Regions from separate parts of the Homo sapiens genome. Here all the other regions are linked to region 1. The links are contacts of gene promoters, found by promoter capture Hi-C in human tissues and cell types (Jung and others, 2019). All regions are on one chromosome and are shown on one strand. The core of a region is centred on a gene start or on the middle of the fragment in contact, and the rest is flanking DNA. Distances in the headings are between cores, read along the strand shown. Region 1 holds the start of FITM2 (fat storage inducing transmembrane protein 2). Region 2 overlaps YWHAB (tyrosine 3-monooxygenase/tryptophan 5-monooxygenase activation protein beta). Region 3 has its middle 17 kb from the start of MYBL2.

The links. The method cuts DNA at HindIII sites, captures the fragments that hold promoters and counts their contacts. A contact is called where the count stands out against the background at its distance.
Region 2: a fragment that was not itself captured here is called in contact with the fragment with the promoter of FITM2 in region 1 in 1 of the 25 tissues and cell types used here (hippocampus).
Region 3: a contact is called between a fragment that was not itself captured here and the fragment with the promoter of FITM2 in region 1, in 1 of the 25 tissues and cell types used here (dorsolateral prefrontal cortex).

Annotation. Positions count from the first base shown.
Region 1 is chr20:44,309,342-44,313,947 of GRCh38, reverse strand. FITM2 (fat storage inducing transmembrane protein 2) reads left to right here and starts at 2,746. Exons shown (of 2, transcript NM_001080472.4): 1 at 2,746-2,972. The coding sequence starts at 2,800. RefSeq lists enhancers at 2,694-2,843, 2,440-3,169, 3,134-3,223, 3,170-3,899. The HindIII fragment of the contact is 18,619 bases long and covers 1-4,606 here.
Region 2 is chr20:44,888,970-44,893,701 of GRCh38, reverse strand. The region is part of intron 1 of YWHAB (tyrosine 3-monooxygenase/tryptophan 5-monooxygenase activation protein beta); the gene reads right to left. Among named protein-coding and RNA genes, the nearest start is that of YWHAB, 5.6 kb to the right of the region's middle. The HindIII fragment of the contact is 5,673 bases long and covers 1-4,732 here.
Region 3 is chr20:43,647,718-43,652,570 of GRCh38, reverse strand. It overlaps the pseudogene RPL27AP. Among named protein-coding and RNA genes, the nearest start is that of MYBL2, 17 kb to the left of the region's middle. The HindIII fragment of the contact is 6,998 bases long and covers 1-4,853 here.

The DNA of each region.
Region 1 (4,606 bases), core at 1,497-3,996:
ATATTCACCGAGCAGTCTTTCCCTCCTTCTTGGGTTGGGGGACGTATCTGGATTTTCTTTGGAGGAACCACACAGCTAATAAGGAGGAGAACCGGCACTCAAACCCAGCATCCCTGCTCTTAATTCTTATGCTGTTTGCTAAGGAAAGCCACAGTAATTGAGCACCTGACAAACTCAAGGAGACAGAGATGGTATCAGATACTATTTACAAGCTGCCTTCATAAATAACCCCTTTCTGGCTATGTAGTTTTTATTCCCAATCATGAAATGCCAAATTGGTATAATTATCACTATATTTTATTTTTTAAACCAAGCATTCTGAAGGCCTGGAAGCATCTTGCTATATAAGAACTCTAATCAGATAAATGCAATTTACAGATATGAAGGTCATCTTAAGATGGTTTTAAGGAATTATTATTTTCATTAATTTGTTGATTCTCTGCATGAGACTATAAACATTAGTCCATTGTAGGCATAAATCAGGCTAACATTTCCCAGTGTGGTAGCTGTCCTTGGTATAGAGACACAAAATTATTTTGGGCAGCTAGTGATGATGAATATTTCGATAGAAATTTTTCTTTGGGCCGGGTGTGGTGGCTCACGCCTGTAATCCCAGCACTTTGAGAGGCAGAGGCAGGAAGATCACTTGAGGCTAGGAGTTGGAGACCAGCCTGGTCAACATGGCGAAACCCTGTCTAAAAATACAAAAAAATTAGCCAGGTGTGGTGGCATGTGCCTGTAGTCCCAGCTGCTTGGGAGGGTGAGGCAGGAGACTACCTTGAACCCGGGAGGCAGAGGTTACAGTGAGCCAAGATCAAAATAGCTTGGCCTCCCAAAGTGCTGGGATTACAGGCGTGAGCCACCACGTCTGGCCTAAAATGCCCATCTCTTGATATGACTATATATGTGTGTATTGGCTGGGTTTGTGGCTTTTGGAATAAACTTCTGTTGTTTAAAACAAGTTTAGGGTTGGGCACGGTGGCTCGCACCTGTAATCCTAGCACTTTGGGAGGCCGAGGCAGGAGGATCACTGGAGCCCAGGCGTTCGAGATCAACCTGGGCAACATAGTGAGACCCCATCTCTATTTAAAACTAAAGAAAAAAAAAGGAATAAAAATAAACTGAGTTTATAGTAATTTATTAGAGCTGCCACAGGAAACTAACATTGGGGTAAGGGAATGAGTCCAAGGTTGGGAACTGAAATAGACACCCAGCCCTAACCAGGGGTGAGGGGTTAGTTTTGTGATAAACTGAGCAACTGAGTCTCCAACAACTTCATGTGATCTCCCCATTAACCCCCAGCATCCAGCATTTTCATCCAACAGGCATAGATAGCTGTTTTGTGTTTCTTTGTGTGCTTTTTAAGACGGTCTCGCTCCGTGGCCCAGGCTGGAGTGCAATGGGACCATCACAGCTCACTGCAACCTCAAATTCCTGGGCTCAAGCAATCCTCCCACCTCAGCCTCCTGAGTAGCTGGGACCACAGGCCTGAGCCACCAAGTCAGCTAGTTTTTAAAATTATTTCTTATAGATACTGAGTCTCACTGTGTTGCCCAGGTGAAAATAAATTTAGAAATTTAAACTTTAAATGTAATAATTGCACCAGGTGAGATGGCTCACTCCTGTAATCTCAGCACTTTGGGAGGTGAAGGCTGGCAGATCACTTGAGGTTAAGATTTGGAGAGGTCAGATCACTTGAGGACAGGAGTTGGTCAGCCTGGCCGACATGGTGAAACCCCATCTCTACTAAAAATACAAAAATTAGCTGGGTGTGGTGGTGCGTGCCTGTAATCCCAGCTACTCGGGAGGCTGAGGCAGGAGAATCGCTTGAACCTGGGAGGCAGAGGCCTGCAGTGAGCTGAGATCGCGCCACTGCATTCCAGCCTGGGCAACAGAGCGAGACTATGTCTCTAAATAAATTAATTATATTAATTAATTAATTTAATAACTGCAGAGCGTGGTGGCTCACACTTGTAATTGCAGCATTTTAGGAAGCCGAGGCAGGAGGATCGCTTGAGCCCAGGAGTTTGAGACCAGCCTCGACAACGAAGCAAAACCCTGTCTCTACAGAAATAAAAATAAAAAAAATTAGCCAGGTGTGGTGGTGCCCGCCTGTGGTCCCAGCTACTCGGGAGGCTGAGGTGGGAGTATTGCTTGAGACCAGAAATTTGAGGTTGCGGTGAGCTGCGACGGTGCCATTGCACTCCAGCCTGGGCGACAGAGAGGGACCCCCCCCCAACTAACTAATAAATAAATAAATACAATAATTATTCCTAAGGAAACTTCATCTCATGTCCCTCTACGTGTGCCAACGTAATGAACCCCTGAGCTCATAAACTAGCTTTTGGGAAAGGTTGATCTCCTCTTGTCTCTCGCATTTTACAGATGAGAAAACTAAGACTCAGATGGCAGAGGTGTCTCCGAGGCTCCAAGAAAGATCAAATGATGCTGTGACTACTGCTCCAATTCTCCAGGGCTACATTTATCCTCTTCCAGCCTCCAGCAAATACTTTCACAAGCGCTTTTTCCCAGACCAGAGCAAGACGCGGAGGCTCGGGGAGAGGAGGCGGCCAGGAGAGCGCAGAGGAGACGAGCGAGTTCGGGGACCGTCACGCGCCAGAGGCAGCAGCGGCCACGAGGGGGAGCGCGCGGGCTCCGGAGCCCAAGCACGCCTCAAGCTGTGGGACTCGCGGGCAGTGCGCATGCGCTCGAAGGGAGGTGGAGGCGCAGGTCCGGGCGAAGGGCGATACGGTGGCCGAGAGGGCACGGAGAGGAGGACGGTGGCTGACGAGATCCGGCATGGAGCATCTGGAGCGCTGCGAGTGGTTGTTGCGGGGGACGCTGGTGCGGGCGGCCGTGCGGCGCTACCTGCCCTGGGCCCTGGTGGCCTCCATGCTGGCGGGCTCCCTCCTCAAGGAGTTGTCCCCGTTGCCCGAGAGCTACCTCAGCAACAAGCGCAACGTCCTCAACGTGTGAGTGCACCCCGGTCCTCCGCTGTCCCCGCCCGAGCCGGCCCGCTGTCGCCTCGCCCAGAGAAGCCGGTGCTAGCTGCCGTGGTGGACGAGTCATTGGAGGGGAGGTCCTCCTCCTAGCCGTGACAGCAGCATCTGCACGCGTGTCACGCCTGGGAGGCCCCGGGGTAGCTGGTGTCACTAGCAGTTAGTGTTTGCAGACCCACTTTGGGCAGCATGAGCTTGACTGGGCAGGTGGTGACAAGCGGGGTCGTGTGTGTCTCTGTATATGTAGGGGTGTGGAATGGGGTGGGGATGAACCAGCCCCTGTCACCACTCCCCCGCCTCCCCTTGGAGTTAGGAGCTGACCCCTGCCCTGTTTGGGAGATGCCATCTCACCTCTGTCCTGCCTGCCTGTGGCAGACCCCGCGCAGACCCCACCCTGCGTCAGATCAGATCCCTCCAGCGCGTGACAGAATCCCTTTACGACCTGTGGAAGAGCCTCGCCCCAGCCTGTGACAGGCAGAGCCCCCGCCTGTGAGATACTCACAGAGGGCTGGAACCCCCTAGTCTGTGCCCTTTCCCCTGGATCTCCTTGGATCATCTCAGCCACTCAGAATGCATGGCAGTGGCCCAGAAAAGCAATCCCAGCTGGGCGCTTTGAGACATCTCCTTAACTCCACCCATCCACTCCTTTGCTTGCTTACTTGCTTTTTTCAAAACTCCCGGTTAGTAAGTTTATTGCACAAAAACTCTGTTGCGGTCATAAAGGGAAACTCTGAAAGATAAAACTGCTCCCTTGATGTGAGCCTAAGTGTTTTCCAGAATAAGTGTCTCTGGCGTGTCCTGAAAGTCAGCCCAACTTTGGTTATCTGCTTAAAACCCTGGTTCCTTTCACAGGCAGCTTCCTCAAATGCCTGACGGGTCTTGGCTCTGGCAAGATCTTCCTTATCAGTCCCAGTGAAGATTTTAGTGACAGGCCTGGGGGTGGTGCCTGAGAATCCATTGGAACCTAGAAAAAAGTCCTTCTGTCCTTGGTCCACCTTCCTTCCTCACCCACCCTGAGAGGCTGGGCTAAGAATAGATCATGAGAGTGGTAGTGGCCCCAAGTCTCTGTCCTGGGTTTAGGTCAGCCACCTTTCGTGAACGCTGGGGAGGCGGACAAGGCAGCTGCTGCTTCCTCTGGCCTAGGTGAGCTGGGAGCCAAGTGGCCTGGCTGACAACACACCCCTGTTGTTTGAAGGTAGTCATGGATCCTGGAGTTTTGTTCCAAGCCTCTGTGCTGATTAATGAGAGGGAACTAGTGAATCCTGGGATATAGAAGGGACCTTAAAAATCATTTGGTCCTCTCAGCTCTGTTTGATAGCTGAAGAAACTGAGGCCTGGAAAGGTAGGAGGTATAGTAAGTTAAGTAAGAGTGAAGATTTGAACCCGTAAGAGTGAAGATTTGAACCCCGGTCTTTTGGCTTAAAGTAAGACCTTGTTGCAAGACTGTTTCTGCCGTTAGGAAAGAACCAGGCTGGGCGCAGTGGCTCACACCTGTAATCCAGGCACTTTGGGAGGCCAAGGCAGGTGGATCACTTGAGGTCAGGAGTTCAAGACCAGCCTGGCCAACGTGGTGAAACCCCATCTCTACTAAAAATACAAAAATTAGC
Region 2 (4,732 bases), core at 1,512-4,011, 580 kb before region 1:
AAAAAAAGGCAGGGGAGGGAAGGAGATAGATGGTACAAGATTACGTGGCCATCAAAAGAAGAGATTTAATGTCATGAAAAGATTTATTTAAGAGCAATGGGGGCTGGAGGGACGAGGCTGCACAATATTTTATTTCTGTAAAATATCCCCTAAAGAACAAACAAACCCGAACAGAAAGGTTACACCAAATGGTTAACACTGGTTCTGTCTCTGGGTAATAACATTATTATATCCTCATTTTCCTATCTTTTTAAATTTTCTTCAAGTATGTATTACTTTTTTAAAAATTGGGTACTATTTCTTTTTTTAAGAAAAAAAGTGTTTTTCTGTTTAAAGAGAAACCACTAGTGCAGATAAACAGCTATGAAAAATAATTCTAAAGGTACTCACAAAATAGGATTTTCTTCAAAGAAACAAAATCCTAAATCAGATAATAAATGCTGAAAATAGAGGATCTAGGAAACAGCCTAGCCCCTCTATCCCAATTCCTTCCCCAAGGGACATCTTTCTAGTCAGGGTCAAAATACTGAGAAGTTATTTCCCAGTGGCTAGAGCAGATATCCTAGGAGAAGAATCAAAAAAGAAAGAAAGAAAAGAAAAAGAAGACTACCTACTGCTAATCCATTTTTTTTTAAATAAAGGCAGTGCAAAGACAGAAAGGGTTGAAAATGACAGCTGTGGCCTTTAGAAGCACTGGCTTTCAGCTATGTTTTGTTTTCAAGGCAAAGAACATGCTCGATTCGAAAATAATAAGCTTTGAATTTAATAATTTGTTAGAAATTTCAGATGAAGACTCCATTATTATATGTCAGGAATTACCCAAGCTCTATACATATAAAATATACGGTGGGGTCTGCTTTTAGCAAGCCTTACATACACATCTGAGCTTCTAAAGAGAAAGTAGGTGATTTTTCTACATTTCCACATTATAACTTACCTGAATCTGTTTTCTCAGTGTTAAAAAGAGACATTAATAGCTATCAAATAAGATAATGAACATAAAATGCCCATATAGTGCTGGTTAGAGTAAAGGCTCATAAGCCATTCTTATTTTTTATTCTTAAGCTACCTCACAAAAATGTAACACATATAATCCAATGTGTGTTGAAATAACTAACAAAATGAAAAACTACCAAATTTCTAAGAACTCTTTGGATTATTCATTGAGAGGAATTTAAAAGAAAGCAGTGTAGTCCTCCCCTCAGAGAGCTTAAACTCTAGTGGTAGAAACACAAGAAAAGAGCACATGTATATCTATTACACATCAATTAAAAAAAAAAACAGCACACGTTTAAGGGTTACAATGCCTCTCCTTAGAAAGCCAACCAGACAGAACTAGAGGAAATAGGTTTAAAGGTAGCTAGGTCGTGACTTAAAAAGAGATGTTATTAATAAAGTGCATGTATGTTTTTCTAGATGAGATAAAAATCAAAGGCCAAAGCAGATAAAGAAATGAGAATAAGGAAGAAAACTGACAAGAAAATCTGAAAAATCTAGGCTCGAATGTTTCAATGGGGTAAGGAACTGATCACATATTCTGAACAGCATTCACAGATGTACCATTCCAGATAGAGCATCCACAGCACTGTACAGCAGAAGTTTTAGTTCTGGAGTCTCTCTGCTGAAGAAAAATCAGATGCCAAGCTACTGCAGAAGGGACTGAGAAAGTCAGTGGGACCAGGTGGTTAGTGGGTGTTACCCAGAAAAAGTTAAACACTCCTGGCTCTCAGAGAAAACTACTCACTAAAAAACACCCACTATAAAACTGTCTGTGTGCCATTCTACATATAAAATTTAGAGTCCTGTAATAAATTTAATTCCATTCAAACATTTGCAGGTTCTTTGTTAGGAAACAAAACACAGCATATCTGTAATACAAAGTCATTAGCACTAAGTCCAGTGAACACTGAATTTGGAGAGAAACTGCATTTCTATTATTTCAAAATCCCTTCCCTCTTTCACATCAGCTGTTGCATATCATTGCTAATTATGTCCAATTAGCCATGATTAAACTTACTGAGGGTGTTAAGTGACAGGCGCAAGGTTACACATGTGACTTAATGGTAGATATGACAATAAATTGACTTCTTGGCTTAAGTAATCAATCCAAAAGACACTATGTTAATTCTGATCCATAAAGACAGCCCAATTGGTTGACCTTATGAATAATTTCTACAGTTTGGGGCCCACTGACATAATGAAGCCTATCAGTCTGATTTACCAGTACCGCACACCAAGTCCACAGGCTATGTGACCTCTGTGAATTTGTTTTCTCATCCATAATACAGGCAAATCTGGGCTGGGCGTGGTGGCTCACGCCTGTAATCCCAGCACTCTGGGAGGCCGAGGAGGGTGATCACTTGAGGTCAGGAGTTCAAGACCAGCCTGGCCAACATGGTGAAACCCCGTCTCTACTAAATATATAAAAAAATTAGCCGGGTATAGTGGCAGGCGCCTGTAATCCCAGCTAATTGGGAGGCTGAGGCAGCCTGAAGGCAGAGGCTGCAGTGAGCTGAGATCACGCCACTGCACTCCAGCCTAGGCGACAGAGCAAGACTCTGTGAAGAAAAAAAAAAACATAGGCAAATCTACTTACTAGGGTTCCTGTAAGGAGTAAACCTGTTTATGATATAAAACAGTAAGCACTCAAATAAATGGCAACCACAGTACATTCCACACAAAACTTAAAAAACCAATGGTCAGCCAGTGAAGGGAAACTTACTATGTACCTCATTTATTTTACACGTACTCTGCTTTCTTTAAAGACTTTTAAAAGAAAGGCACATAACAATTTCCCTATGCTTATTTCTAAAATGGCCCTTATCACAGTTTACTGCAATGCAAGTGTCTCTGCTGGCTCCCACACCGGATTGTGAGCTTAAAGTAGGAATCCAGCCAGGCGTGGTGGCTCACGCCTGTAATCCCAGCACTTTGGGAGGCCGAGGCAGGTGGATCGCAAGGTCAGGAGTTCAAGACCAGCCTGGCCAAGATGGCGAAACCCTGTCTCTACTAAAAATACAAAAATTAGCTGGGCGCAGTGGCAGGCGCCTGTAATCCCAGCTACTCAGGAGGCTGAGGCAGGAGAATTGCTTGAACCCGGGCTTCAGAGGTTGCAGTGAGCCAAGATCGTGCCACTGCACTCCAGCCTGGGTGACAGAGTGAGACTCCATCTCACAAAAAAAAAAAAAAAAAAAAAAAAAAGTAGGAATCCAGACTTGTATCTTTGGACACCCAATGTGGAGTACAAGGCCTAGCACACTGAGTGACTGCTTGATCAACTGATGCATTCTTAAAAAGTGAAAAAGCAATTATTTCCTACGTGGACAGAGGAAGGTAGCACACATCTGACCTATAAAATACAGACTGTTTTTATTGTCTTAGACTACTTTTTGAAAAAAGCCAGCCAGCTCTCATCAGGAGCAACACTATACATTTTGACTAATATTTTTCAGCTACCAATCATTGTATTTATAGATTCAAACTGACTTTCAACAAGCCTTTGGATTACTTTCTGTCCATCTCCTCCATTCAGAAGTCCAATCAGTTCGCTATACAAAAAGTTCACTATACAGAAACCCAAACCAGCTAACTCGTTTAGTAAATAACAAAAATATCCATCCATCATTTATGGCCTGCAAAGCACTCAGGGATTCCTAGAAACGCATTTGATCCTAAGTATCCTATGAGGCAGGTGACATTGTCCCGTTTTATAAATGCAAAGAGTTAACTCATTCAGGGTCACACAGCTATATATGGCAGATCTGGGATCTAAACCAACATTAATTTTAAAATTAATGCTCTTTCCTTTATGTAACCCTATCTCCTAAAGATCAATTATGAACTCCAATGCTCACTTAAGGAAAAGAGAGAATTGTCAACTTTTAAAAGAACTATACAAGGTTGTTACAGTGAAATTTTAAAACTGGCCTATTAAGCTAATGTTATCTAGCTTTAAAAATAAAAACAAAATCAAGGAGTTAAAAACAGCATAAAAACATGCCAAAGACTTACCAAAATGTCAAACAAATTTTAAAGGAAAGCTCTTAGCTGAGGGCAAATAATAATAATAGACAGGACTCATATCTACTTTATTGTAGCCTTCAATCTTCTTGTCCTGGTCAAGGCCATTCAGAAATAACCTCCTGTTGGTTCTTTTAGGGAAAACAATAAAATAAACTAACCAGTACGGGAAAAACTTACATAATAAAGAACTGGCCAGAATTTAAAAAAAAAAAAAAAGTTAACTAACCTACAATCTGCTAGGAATGACTTGAGGCCACTGATCATTTACATCTCATTACAAGTATCAGATACATATAACCACACCTCTATTAGAAAATCTTTTAGTTGAGAAAGCAGTAAGATGATTGGCCTTCAGCACACATATCATGAGACAGAAAGCACTTTTAGTCTGTTTCCTCAAGTATTCCCCTTAGAAAAATTCCCTCAGAATCCAGCTCCAACCGTTAGTTTCTCCATCATGCAATACAGATGACTGCTAAGATCATATTCACATAGAGATCAAAAGGATTCTAAAGCTTAAAGGTTGCTATTATGTAACCATAATTTCTTGCCCCTTAACTAGTGAATTGTCATCTTTCCCTAGAAAAATGTAGAAACAAGGAACTTAAAAGTATCTCTACAAGGAAATTTTAGTTCATTCTCTAAGGTACCAGCATTTAAAGGAAAACTCAGTTTGTTGACACCGAAAGAGCAGGTAGCACAACAGGAT
Region 3 (4,853 bases), core at 1,172-3,671, 660 kb after region 1:
GCTCACATGGCCCCGAAGTTTCTGGGTCTTCCTCAGTCTGGATGGCATTTTGGCGGCTCAGACGAAAGACTCTCTCTCTCTCTCTCTCTCTCTCTCTATATATATATATATATATATATATTTTTTTTTTTTTTTTCTTTTCTTTGAGACGAGTCTCACTCTGTCGCCCAGGCTGGAGTGCAGTGGCCCGATCTCCGCTCACTGCAAGCTCCGCCTCCTGGGTTCACGCCATTCTCCTGCCTCAGCCTCCCAAGTAGCTGGGACTACAGGCGCCTGCCACCATGCCCGGCTAATTTTTTTGTATTTTTTAGTAGAGATGGGGTTTCACCGTGTTAGCCAGGATGGTCTCGATTTCCTGACCTCGTGATCTGCCCCCCTCAGCCTCCCACAGTGCTGGGATTACGGGCATGAGCCACTGCGCCCAGCCACTCAATGTATTTTAAAATACATTTTTTAAAATTAGCTGGGTATGGTAGCATACACCTGTAGTCCCAGTTACTCGGAAAGCTGAAGCAGGAGGATTGCTTGAGCCCAGGAGGTTGAGGTTACAGTGAGCTATGATCACACCAGTGCACTTCAGCCTGGGCAACAGAGCAAGACCCTGTCTCAAAAAAATCAAAAACAAGGCTGGGCGCAGTGGCTCACGCCTGTAATCACAGCGCTTTGGGAGGCCGAGGCGGGTGGATCACTTGAGGTCAGGAGTTTGAGACCAGCCTGGTCAACATGGTGAAACCTTGTCTCTACTAAAAATACAAAAAATTAGCCAGGCGTGTTGGCACGTGCCTGTAATCCCAGCTATTGGGGAGGCTGAGGCAGGAGAATCACTTGAACCTGGGAGGCAGAGGGTGCAGTGAGCTGAGATTGTGTCACTGCACTCCAGCCTGGGAGACAGAATGAGACCCTGTCTCAAAAAACAAAACAAAACAAAAAAACAAAAATAAAAATAAAAACAAATATAACAAAATGGCAGTGAGGGCACACCTTCCTTCCCATTTTATTATATTCATGGATTCTGGGAGTCAGGAATTCACAAAGAACACAGCAGGGATGGCTTGTCTCTGCTCTATGACATCTGGGACCTCAATTGGGATGACAAAAGGCTGAGGTGCTTGATGGTTGGGGCCAGGAGTCATTTGGAGGTATCATCATTCATGTTTGGCAAGCGATTTATACCAAGATGCTGGTATAGACTGAGATCTCTGGCTGTTGGCCAGAACACCTATACATGGCCTATCCACGTGGCCTTGGACTTCTTACATGGAGGCTTGTGTTCTAAAGGTGAATGTCCCAAGATAACCAGGCAGAAGCTGTATAGCCTTTTATGAACTAGCCTCAGAGGTCACCAGCATCACTTCTGCCACGGTGCCAGATTCAAAGATTCAGAGGAGGGAACAGAGACCCCACCTCTCAATGGGAGGAGCATCAAGCCCACAGGATAAGAGAAGAGCATTTGGGTTGGGAGACAATCATTGAACACATTTTGGGTATGTATTTGGAACACACTGCCACAGCACTCCCCAGGCCTGTCCTCTAGCTGCTTATCTCCCAGCTTTGAGCTAGAGCCCCCAAATTCTTCTGCCCCTGGAGTGGCTTCCCCGTTCCCCAGTGCCCTGCCCTGGCTGGCAACTCTGAATAAGCCGTGTACTAGGGCTTGAGTATGGGAGAGAATGGAAGCCTATGAACAGAGCTTTACCATGAAGAAATCATTTGAAACTCAGGATTTGACTTGAGCTGTTCTTCCCAAGCTTTTAAATTTCTAACACTACTCTTTGACAAATGATTCTCATGACTTTAATTAACCACTCCATATGAACAACTCCACTCTTGAGACTGGACATCTTTTCTAAGCCTAAATTAGGGATTTCCAGCCATTTACTAGTTATTTCCACCTGTATTAATTGCCATAGTCTCAACTGGACTCTTATGCTCCAAAACCACTCATCCTTCAGACTCCCCATCTTTTTTTTTTTAATAGAGTTTCCCTCGTTACCCAGGCTGGAGTGCAATGGCATGATCTCGACTCACTGCTACCTCCACTTCCCGGGTTCAAGCAATTTTCCCACCTCAGTCTCCTGAGTAGCTGGGATTACAGGCGCCCGCCACGCCAGGCTAATTTTTGTATTTTTAGTAGAGACGGGGTTTCACCATGTTGGCCAGGCTGGTCTAGAACTCTTGATCTCAGGTGATCTGCCCGTCTCGGCCTCCCAAATTGCTGGGATTACAGGCATGAGCCACCGTGCCTGGCCTAGACTCCCCATCTTTTAATAGCTGCCCCCACTGTCCCAGGAAATCAAGCCCCAAATCTTGCCAATCTAACTTTCAACACCCAGACCAAAGTGTTTCAAAATGCCACCTTTCCTATAATACCACCTTAGTCCACATCCTTATTATTTGCTCTTGGGGTTGTATCAAACTCTTCTGTAAATGACCATCCTTCTACCATTCCCATCTTTATAGAACCCACCAGCTAAACTATTCCCATTGTGCAGCAATGGGAATTGCTCCTCCCCTCCCCCCTCCCCCCTTTCCTCCCACCTCCCCTCCCCTCCCCTCCTCTCCTCTCCTCTCCCTTCTCTCCTCTCCTATCCTCAGTGGCTCTGCAACCTTCCATCTGGCTTTCAGAGTTCCCCAAAGCTGGTTATCTGTGTATGTCAGTACACTGCTGTGCATTTCTATACACCAACTGCACCATTCTGACAGGTGCAGTCTCTCCCATTGTCCCATGACAATACCCTCTAGCCTCCTTGGAACAGATGATTAAATTTGGCCCTACATTATAACCCAAGATGATGATAGAACTGAGTGCTTCAGGAAGCCAGAGGACAGGGAAGAAGCATGGGTGGCCCATTCTGGAGTGCAGTGGTATGATCATAGCTAGTGCAGCTTTGAACTCCTGGGCTCAAGCAATCCTGCCACCTCAGTCTCCCAAATACCTGGGACTACAGGTGTGTGCCACTATACCTGGCTAATTTTCATTTTTGTAGAGATGGACTTTCACTTTTGTTCCCCAGGCTCAGCTTCTAAATCAGGAGTATCTAATCTTTTGGCTTCCCTGGGCAACATTGGAAGAATTGTCTTGGGTCACACAAAATACACTAACAATGGCTGATGAGCTAAAAAAATAATAATAATGGCCGGGTGCAGTGGCTCACACCTGTAATCCCAGCACTTTGGGAGGCCGAGGCTGGTGGATCATGAGGTCAGGAGATCGAGACCATCCTGCCTAACACAGTGAAACCTCGTCTCTATTAAAAATACAAAAAATTAGCCAGGCATGGTGGTGGGTGCCTGTAGTCCCAGCTACTTGGGAGGCTGAGGCAGGAGAATGGCATGAACCTGGGAGGTGGAGTTTGCAGTGAGCCAAGATAGCGCCACTGCACTCCAGCCTGGGCAAAAGGGCGAGACTCCTTCTTAAAAAAAATAAAAAAAATAAAAATAAAAATAATAATAAACACATCTATCTCTTAATTTTTTTTTTTTTTTTTGACAGTCTTGCTCTGTCACCCAGGCTGGAGTGCAGTTATGTGATCTTGGCTCACTGCAACTTCTGCCTCCCAGGTTCAATGATTTTCCCCACCTCAGCCTCCCAAGTAGCTGGGACTACAGCTATGAGCCACTATGCCTGACCATGTCTGGCTAATTTTTTTTTTTTTTTTGAGACAGTCTTGCTCTGTTGCCCAGGCTGGAGTGCAGTGGTACAACCTCAGCTCACCACAACCTCTGCCTCTGGGGTTCAAGCGACTGTCCTGCCCCAGCCTCCTGAGAAGCTGGGATTATAGGCCTGCACCACCACACCCGGGTAATTTTTGTATTTTTAGGAGAGACAGGTTTTCGCCATGTTGGCCAGGCTTGTCTTGAACTCCTGACTTCAAGTGATCCATCCACCTCGGCCTCCCAAAGAACTGGGATTACAGGCATGAGCCACCGTACCAGGCCTCTACACCTGGCTAATTTTTGTATTTTTTGTAGGGACAGGGTTTCATCCTGTTGGCCAGGTTGGTCTCTATCTCCTGGCCTCAGGTGATCCACCCACCTTGGCCTCCCAAAGTGTTGGGATTACAAGCATGAGCCACTGCACCTGGCCTCATAATGTTTTAAGAGTTTACAAATTTGTAGGCCGGGCGCGGTGGCTCACGCTTGTAATCCCAGCACTTTGGGAGGCTGAGGCGGGCGGATCATGAGGTCAGGAGATCGAGACCACGGTGAAACCCCATCTCTACTAAAAATACTAAAAATTAGCCGGGCGTGGTGGCGGGCGCCTGTAGTCCCAGCTACTCGGAGAGGCTGAGGCAGGAGAATGGTGTGAACCCAGGAGGCAGAGCTTGCAGTGAGCCGAGATCGCGCCACTGCACTCCAGCGTGGGTGACAGAGCGAGACTCCGTCTCCAAAAAAAAAAAAAAAGTTTACAAATTTGTTTTAGGCCACATTCAAAGCCGTCCTAAGCCACATGCAGCCCATGGGCTGCGGGTTGGACAAGCTTGCTCTACATGGTTGTGTCCTATGGGCAACTGGGAGATGAAGGGATGAGATCTATATAAGGAAGGTATCTGTCTACTCTTTTATCTTCTTCTTTAGGTACAGTGGGGTAAACAGACTATGGGTTAAGTTCTGTATCCTTTTTTTTTTTTTTTTTTGAGACAAGAGTCTTGCTCTGACACCCAGACTGGTATGTGGTGGTGTGATCTCAGTTTACTGCAACCTCCGCCTCCCGGGTTCAAGTGATTCTCCTGCCTCACCCTCCCGAGTAGCTGGAACTACAGGTGTGTGCCACCATGCCCGGCTAATTTTTTGTACTTTTAGTAGAGATGGGGTTTCACCATGTTAGCCAGGATGGTCTCGATCTCCTGCCCTCG